Regions from separate parts of the Homo sapiens genome. Here all the other regions are linked to region 2. The links are contacts of gene promoters, found by promoter capture Hi-C in blood cells and fetal thymus (Javierre and others, 2016). All regions are on one chromosome and are shown on one strand. Each heading gives the region's core, a stretch centred on a gene start or on the middle of the fragment in contact. The rest is flanking DNA. Distances are from core to core; before and after follow the strand shown.

Region 1 (2,700 bases), core at 188-2,687, 130 kb before region 2:
ACGTGGTGAAACCCCGTCTCTACTAAAAATACAAAAAATTAGTTGGGCGTGGTGGCATACGCCTGTAATCCCAACTACTTGGGAGGCTGAGGCAGGAGAATTGCTTGAACCCAGGAGGCGGAGGTTGCAGTTAGCCGAGATCGTGCCATTGAACTCCAGCCTGGGAGACAGAGCAAGACTCCGTCTCAAAAAAAAAAAAAAAAATCAAAGCTCAAGTAATTCCCCAAGTTGTATCAAAGTTGCTGTATTTCCTTCTTGCTGGGCAGCCAATAGCTGTGAAACAGAATCTTTTCATGCTGAGAACTCAATAGCCATTGGAACAATACTGGATTTTAACTACTTCAAACTGTCAGAAGATCTACAAATTGAAAAGGACCTTGGAGTACATCTTGCTTAATCTCCATGTGACTCATGACTGTCCTCCACAACTTTACCTATAAGAAATCAACCAGTTCTTACATTGTTTTTAATTATAGCAGCTGACATTTATTGAGTGCTAACTATGCCTGTTACCATTCTACATACTTTATTTGTACACACTCTCAATTCTTATAATCATGATGTGAGGTAGATACCATTATTATCCCATTTTACAAAGGAGGAAACTAAGGCACATGGAGGCTAATTTGCCTAAGGTCATAGAGACGGTGAGTGACAGATCACACAGACATCATACAGAAATCAAAATGGGAGAATGTTAAAACCAATTTTATGCCAATAAATTCAATATTTTAAATGAAATGTCAAAATTCCTTAAAATATGCCACTTCCCAAAATGAATTCGAGAAAAAGTAGTGTCTGAATAATCCTCTACTTATAAAAACAATTCAAAATTAAAAACTTTCCTACAAAAACTCCAGTCACTGAAAGCTTCACTAGTTGATTCCATTACAGTTAAAGATACTCCATATTTTAATAACATAAAATATTATTGTGGCATATCTTAATAGTATCAAACCTTAAAAAAATGATTTTAGAACACAGAGAAAAAGTAAACATATCAAAGCTCATTTTAAGAGTCCAGCATTATTCTGACATCAAAACCAGGCATGGAAATTACAAGGTGATATCAGAAACGTTCCATATGAGTGTGGCTGGGAAAAAAACATATATATGTTATAAACATATGTATATGTTATAAACACATGCATGCTGCATGTTATAAACACATGCATGCTGCATGTTACAAACATGTATGCTATATATTATAAACATGTGTGTTACATATATGCTATAACATGTTACTTGTGTTATACGCATTGTTACATGTTATAAACATGTGTACATTACATATATGCTATAAACCTGTGTTGTACATACGTGTAAATATATAAAATATATATTATATATCAGGAACAAGGCAAGATAACTGCCCTCATCAGCAAAAACATGAAATACTGAGAAATATATTTAACAAAATACTGCTATACATTGAAAACTAAAAAACACTGCTAAGAGAAATTAAAGAAGACATAAATAACTGGAAAGAAAAACCATGTTTATAGATTTAAAATTTGATATTATTAAGATAGGAATTTTCTCCAAAATGATCTATGTGTTTATATTTAGCAGAATCCCAATAGTGCCAAGCACTATTAGGACAGGCATTATTAGGGAAATTGATAAGATGATTCTAAACTGTATATGGAAAGATGCAGGGCAACTAAAACAAGTTTGAAAAAGAATTGAAGACCTGGAGGATTTACACTATCTGATTTCAAGAATAATAAAATTCAGAACTATAAAACTATACTAACAAGTTAGTGTGGTACTGCACAGGATATAAATCAATAGAATAGACTAGAATCCAGAAACAGACCTATAAATATGTGGTCAATTGATTTTAAACAAAGGTGCCAAAGGTAGTTTAATAGGGAAAAGATTATCTTGTCAATATTGTTAGGACAATTGGATATCCACATGCAAACAAATGAATCTTGACCGTTAATGCATACTATACATTAAAATTAAACTCAAATAGACATACAGGTAAAGCTAAAGCTATAAAGCTTCTGGAAGAAAACAGTGGAGAGTATTTTTACCCTCTTGTGGTGGGCAAACATTTTTTTTTAATTTTATTATTATTATATTTTAAGTTTTAGGGTACATGTGCACAACGTGCAGGTTTGTTACATATGTATACATGTGCCATGTTGGTGTGCTGCACCCATTAACTCTTCATTTAGCATTAGGTATATATCCTAATGCTATCCCTCACCACTCCACCCACCCCACAACAGGCCCCGGTGTGTGATGTTCCCCTTCCTGTGTCCATGTGTTCTCATTGTTCAGTTCCCACCTATGAGTGAGAACATGCGATGTTTGGTTTTTTGTCCTTGCGACAGTTTGCTGAGAATGATGGTTTCCAGCTTCATCCATGTCCCTACAAAGGACATGAACTCATCATTTTTTATGGCTGCATAGTATTCCATGGTGTATATGTGCCACATTTTCTTAATCCAGTCTATCATTGTTGGACATTTGGGTTGGTTCCAAGTCTTTGCTATTGTGAATAGTGCCGCAATAAACATACACATGCATGTGTCTTTATAGCAGCATGATTTATAATCCTTTGGGTATATACCCAGTAATGGGATGGCTGGGTCAAATGGTATTTCTGGTTCTAGATCCCTGAGGAATTGCCACACTGACTTCCACAATGGTTGAACTAGTTTACAGTCCCACCAACAGTGTAAAAGT
Region 2 (2,700 bases), core at 20-2,519:
GTGGAACTGGGCCGAGGTAGGTGCCGGGACGCACTACCTGGATGGGGCCAAATTGGAAGGAGATTCGCCCTGACTGAGGTACAGGTGTTTCTTCTCCCCACATGCTGGAACCCAGGAGGCTCCAGGTGCTTCCCCACGAGACATGCCTCGGTATGCAGACTGAGGCCAAGTTCTCGGCGCCCTCAGCCCCGCCAGTAGCGGAACTCCTGCCCGCTGAGCGAGGGCCCTCATGAGAAGGGAAGGTCGCGTGGACAGGCTGCCAGGGGCAAGCGTTTTTAGATTACTTCCTCCTTCTTGGCCCCAGATGCACTTGTGAGTTGGGGGTGTGCGCGGTGGGGTGGGAGGGTGCTTGTGCCCAAAAAGTCTGGGAACGAAAGCTACTGCTGGCTCGAACCCGGACTAGCAAAGTGCGGAAAGCCCGTGGCACAGGAGTGGGTGCCAGGCAGCCCGCACGCAGGTGACCGGCGGACCCCCTCCCCAGGCCCGGGCGGCGGCGGGGCGGGGTGGGGTGGGACTGACCCCTGGCTCCGCCCCGCGGCGCCCCCCGCTGGGCCCCGTTTCCTCCCCCCCCCTCGCGTCCCCGCCGCCCGCACTCACAGCGCTTGGGTGAAGGCGCTGAGCCCCTCGGGCACGGCCGTCAGCCCCTTCCCGGAGCAGTCCACCCGACGGTCGCCGTCGCAGCTGCAGGGCGCCGCGCAGAGAGGCGGCGCCGCGCCGCTGGGCCCGGCCGAGCCGAGCAGCCCCAGGGCGAGGAAGCAGAGCAGCCCTAGCGGGCCCGGCATTGCTGCGGCCGCCTCCCGCGCCGGCCTCTCCCGCGGCGCTGCTCGCTCCGCTGCCCTCCGATGTCCCCCGCCGCCCCCGGGCAGCCGGCCTGCGGGCTGGAGCGGGGGTCTCTTCCTCGGCGGTCCGCGCGGGCTCGGCCCCTTCAGCAGTCCGCCGCAGCGGCGCAGGGACGCGGCGCTCCGGAGTTTCGCCCTTCCCGCTGCTCCATGGACGCGCAGAGGCAGCCCCGCTCCTCCGGCGGCTCACGCCAGCCGGGCCGGCCCGGCGCAGCGGCGGGGGCCGCGCTCTGCCATCGCACCGGTCTCCCTGTCCCTGGCCTCTCAATGCAGCGGCTCTTCAAGGTTGCAGAGCGCAGCCTTCAGCCATGCCGGCCACTCGCCCCAGCCCCCGCCGTGGCTCTCGCACAAACACCCAGACTCTGGCTCGCTGTCTCCCAGCCGCGGCTCAATCTCTTCCCGTCCTTTTCCCTTCTAGGGTTGCACGCTCTGGTTCCCAAACCCCCGGCCGCTGGCTTATGCAAATCACTTAGGTACATGCAAAAGTATCCCTTCTCCCGGAGCGCCATTGGCCCGGGGAGGTCTCGAGCTCATTACTATGCAGAGAGGAGAGCCGCCATTGGCCAAGAGGAGGACCAGAGGGGCGTGTTTCTCGGGCGTGAGTGACAAGGTGGTGGTGGTTGTGGTGGTGGCGGCGGTGGTGGTGGTGGTGGTGGCGGCGGTGGTGGTGGTGGTGGTGGTGGTGGTTCAAGGCAAAATCTTGACTTGGCTGGATTTGTCTGGCAGGTTGTGGATTGAAGGTAGAAGGATAGTAGGACAAGGGGTCTAGTTTTTCCCTCCCCCACCCGTCTTTTTGTTCCCTCCGCAGAAATTGGATCTCCTAAATTGGATGACCTGGTAAGTAGAACTTCCCTCCAGCGTTCAGTTAAGTTTTAAATGACTCTCCGCTGTTCCAAAGGGCGAGGACGTCTGGAGCTCTGCAAACGGAAAAAAGATTTTGAAGAGGAGGAAAAAAGTTTCCCTCGATCTGACACACATCTTTGGGTTTTAGCTATACACTAAGTTAAAAGTGTACCCTCTCCAGTGCCTCACTTCACCTGGGATCTTTACACCTATCTTGATACACATTTGGTAGCTAAGTCTTAGCAATTCATTCTCCCCAGTCCTCTCTCTGTATTTGGTGTTTTTGGTGACTGCAAATTAGACTCCTTTCTCACGCACTTTAAAATCCTGAAACACAGGAATTTTGTAAAAGGTCAGAGAAAGTGATGTTTCTGAACACTGGACAATTTCCAAAACATCTGAGTGGGAGGTGACTACGGCTGAGAAGCCAGCAGCAACGTTGGTGTTAGGTAATTATCAGCATTCCCTCCTCTTCTGGATTTTGAGTCCCTGTGGCCTAATAGACCCCACGGAATCATTACCTGTACCAACTACGGCTTTAAGGGTACTTCGTTTCTTGCTCTCTGCCATGGCGTTGAGTCGTTTTACTCTATAATGGAGACATTTTTAATGAATACATTAAAACAAGCAGGATTCGGCCGGGCGCGGTGGCTCACGCCTGTAATCCCAACACTTTGGGAGGCTGCGGCGGGCGGATCACCTGAGGTTGGGAGTTCTAGACCACCCTGACCAACATGAAGAAACCCCGTCTCTACTAAAAATACAAAATTAGCCGGGTGTGGTGGCAGATGCCTGTAATCCCAGCTACTCGGGAGGCTGAGGCAGGCGAATTGCTTGAGCCCGGGAGGCGGAGGTTGCGGTGAGCTGGAGATCGCGCCATTGCATTCCAGCCTGGGCAACAAGAGCAAAACTCTGTCTCAAAAAAAAAAAAAAAAAAAAAAAAAAAAAGCAGGATTTAAAGATAATTATCATATAAAGTTGACTAGCCATCGTATGTAAATAAAACTTAGGACAATGG
Region 3 (2,784 bases), core at 209-2,708, 170 kb before region 2:
GGGTTATCTAGAACTCTACATATAGACAACCTCAGGCTCTGGATACTGGGCCACTCTTATGAAAAGTTCTGTTCTTTACCCCGTGATCCTCTCCTGCAGTCTAGATTGGGTGACAAACCAACCTAAGCAATAACAACAGCTTCCTACCTTAAACCTCCCAGAAATGGTGTCACAGTTTAAAAGGGATATTTTAAAATGTGAGTAAAAATGCAAGATTCTAATGACTAGAAGAACATTTCAATATCAAGGCAGACCCCTAAGTGTTCCTCTGAATTAGGAAGGTTTTTTTTGGATCTTCTTATGTACTGCCTACTCATCATGCCTTTGCATGTGTCTGAGCTTCTATCATACAACTTTCCTGAGTTTTTCATAGACTCTGCCCACCTACTACAATGTCACCTCAAAAATGTCTTTTCCAGCTCCCCTGGTTGGCAACTCCTGCTTGTTTCCATAGCAGAGTTCATACCTTTATGACTGTGCTATGATACTATCATGATTATATATATTTTTCCCCATATGGCAGTAAATCCAACAACAGGAGCGGGAGGTGCTGAGTTCAAGAACGAACTATACCTCTCATTCTCCAGTTTATTTTGCTTATCTTGATTGCAAATTCAATTTTTTATTTTGATTCTGACACATCCAATTTTGTTTAGCAGTTACTGGCAACACTGTCATGAAGGCACAGAGGCTTCTAAATTAAAAATTAAGGGCTAAACCACTACAAAGCTGGGATTTTAGGTGCAGTTGGGTCCTAACCACCGCTCACTAGACTTTTCACCCATAGTGCTCCTCTTTTCACAATCATTGATTATCTTATTTAAATCAAAATTTCCCAAATTTTAGGTGTTTGAGTTCTACCTTCAAGATTTTTGCCATATTAAAGTAGCACCTGAGCTAATATTTACTGAAAAGCTTTCTTTAACTCAACTTTTAACATCACTTTTGCTTTGTAAGTACTGTAATATCCATGAAATATGAGATTTGACATGCCATTTTTCATGAATACACATTAAACAAAAAACTATTAAAATGAAAAAATGCGGGGCCGGGCGCGGTGGCTCACGCCTGTAATCCCAGCACTTTGGGAGGCCGAGGCGGGCGGATCACGAGGTCAGGAGATCGAGACCATGGTGAAACCCCGTCTCTACTAAAAATACAAAAAATTAGCCGGGCGTGATGGCGGACGCCTGTAGTCCCAGCTACTTGGGAGGCTGAGGCAGGAGAATGGTGTGAACCCAGGAGGCGGAGCTTGCAGTGAGCCGAGATTGCGCCACTGCACTCCAGCCTGGGCGACAGAGCGAGACTCCATCTCAAAAAAAAAAAAAAAAAAAAAAAAAAAAAGCATTAAAATAATCTCATAACTGTTAAAAGTTTAAAAACACCTATGTAGCCATGAAAATCACCTCCAAGTATTATCCATGGCATTACCTGATCCACTTTGTGAAATACTCTTTTTTTTTTGGGACGGAGTCTTGCTCTGTCGCCCAGGCTGGAGTGCAGTGGCCTGATCTCCGCTCACTGCAAGCTCTGTCTCCCGGGTTCACGCTATCCTCCTGCCTCAGCCTCCCCAGTAGCTGGGACTACAGGCGCCCGCCACCACAACCGGCTAATTTTTTTTTGTATTTTTAGTAGCGACGGGGTTTCACCGTGTTAGCCAGGATGGTCTCGATCTCCTGACCTCGTGATCCCCCCGCCTTGGCCTCCCAAAGTGCTGGAATTACAGGCGTGGTGAAATACTCTTTAAAGCCCCCACTACCCACCTCGTGCCTCCTATCCAAACCTATCCCTTCATTCTCAGCAGACCACGCCACCTTCTTGAAAAAGGCAGTCCGTCAGACTTGAATTCCCCCAACTTGCTTCTCGCCATAGTTTCCTACTCCATACAGAGACCTGAAAGCATTACTTCATCTGGTTCCCATCCTTGGATCTACTTGCTCTGCTCTCAGAAGAGAAGTTGCCCTTCTTTCTGTTCAAGAAATGTCCACTTGCTTGTGTTCTGAAGCTTATCCCAGTGGACTGCCTTAAGGATCTTACTCCATCAAATAACTTCTCTCTTGCTTGTCGTTATCTTAATTATTTTGAATTGTGAAATGTTATGCATAGAAAAGAATATAAACATATTTGTTTAAATTAAATAATAATGAAAATACAGGCCGGGGGCAGTGGCTCACACCTGTAATCCCAGCACTTTGGGAGGCCGAGGCAGGCAGATAACGAGGTCAGGAGATCGAGACCATCCTGGCTAACACGGTGAAACCCCGTCTCTACTAAAAAATACAAAAAATTAGCCGGGCGTCATGGCGGGCTCCTGCAGTTCCAGCTACTCGGGAGGCTGAGGCAGGAGAATGGCGTGAACCCGGGAGGCGGAGCTTGCAGTGAGCGGAGATCGCACCACTGCAATCCAGCCTGGGCGACAGAGCAAGACTCCGTCTCAAAAAAATAAATTAAATTAAATAAAAAAGAAAATACAAGCACCCGTATAACCATCACTCAGGTTAATAGAGCGCTACTGATACCTTCAAACACACTTTGTGCACCTCCTTGTTGTATCTCTCTCCCTCTCACCCAAGTGTAAACTAGCCATTCTTTATAGTTTTACTACCTGTGTATGTAGACTTAAGCAGTGTATCATTTAGTTTTGCTTAGTTTTAAATTTTATGTAAATTGAATCATACTGATTATACTCTGACTCATTTCTTTTTCTCAATATTATGCTCCAGAGGTTTATCCATGTGGGTGTGTATAGTGTTAGTTTCTTTATTTTCACTTCTGTGGAGTATT

The links. The method cuts DNA at HindIII sites, captures the fragments that hold promoters and counts their contacts. A CHiCAGO score of 5 or more calls a contact.
Region 1: a fragment that was not itself captured here is called in contact with the fragment with the promoter of LGR4 in region 2 in 1 of 17 cell types (erythroblasts); the score reaches 6.3 in erythroblasts.
Region 3: a fragment that was not itself captured here is called in contact with the fragment with the promoter of LGR4 in region 2 in 1 of 17 cell types (erythroblasts); the score reaches 6.0 in erythroblasts.

What each region holds. Positions count from the first base shown.
Region 1 is chr11:27,343,215-27,345,914 of GRCh38, forward strand. The region is part of intron 3 of CCDC34 (coiled-coil domain containing 34); the gene reads right to left. Among named protein-coding and RNA genes, the nearest start is that of CCDC34, 19 kb to the right of the region's middle. The HindIII fragment of the contact is 1,139 bases long and covers 869-2,007 here.
Region 2 is chr11:27,471,521-27,474,220 of GRCh38, forward strand. It overlaps LGR4 (leucine rich repeat containing G protein-coupled receptor 4), which reads right to left and starts at 1,270. Exons shown (of 18, transcript NM_018490.5): 1 at 598-1,270. The coding sequence starts at 782. LGR4-AS1 (LGR4 antisense RNA 1) reads left to right here and starts at 211. Exons shown (of 4, transcript NR_131170.1): 1 at 211-312; 2 at 1,258-1,437; 3 at 1,648-1,676. RefSeq lists silencers at 384-443, 694-863, 994-1,043. The HindIII fragment of the contact is 11,499 bases long and covers 1-2,700 here.
Region 3 is chr11:27,298,444-27,301,227 of GRCh38, forward strand. No RefSeq gene overlaps it. Among named protein-coding and RNA genes, the nearest start is that of CCDC34, 63 kb to the right of the region's middle. The HindIII fragment of the contact is 1,090 bases long and covers 914-2,003 here.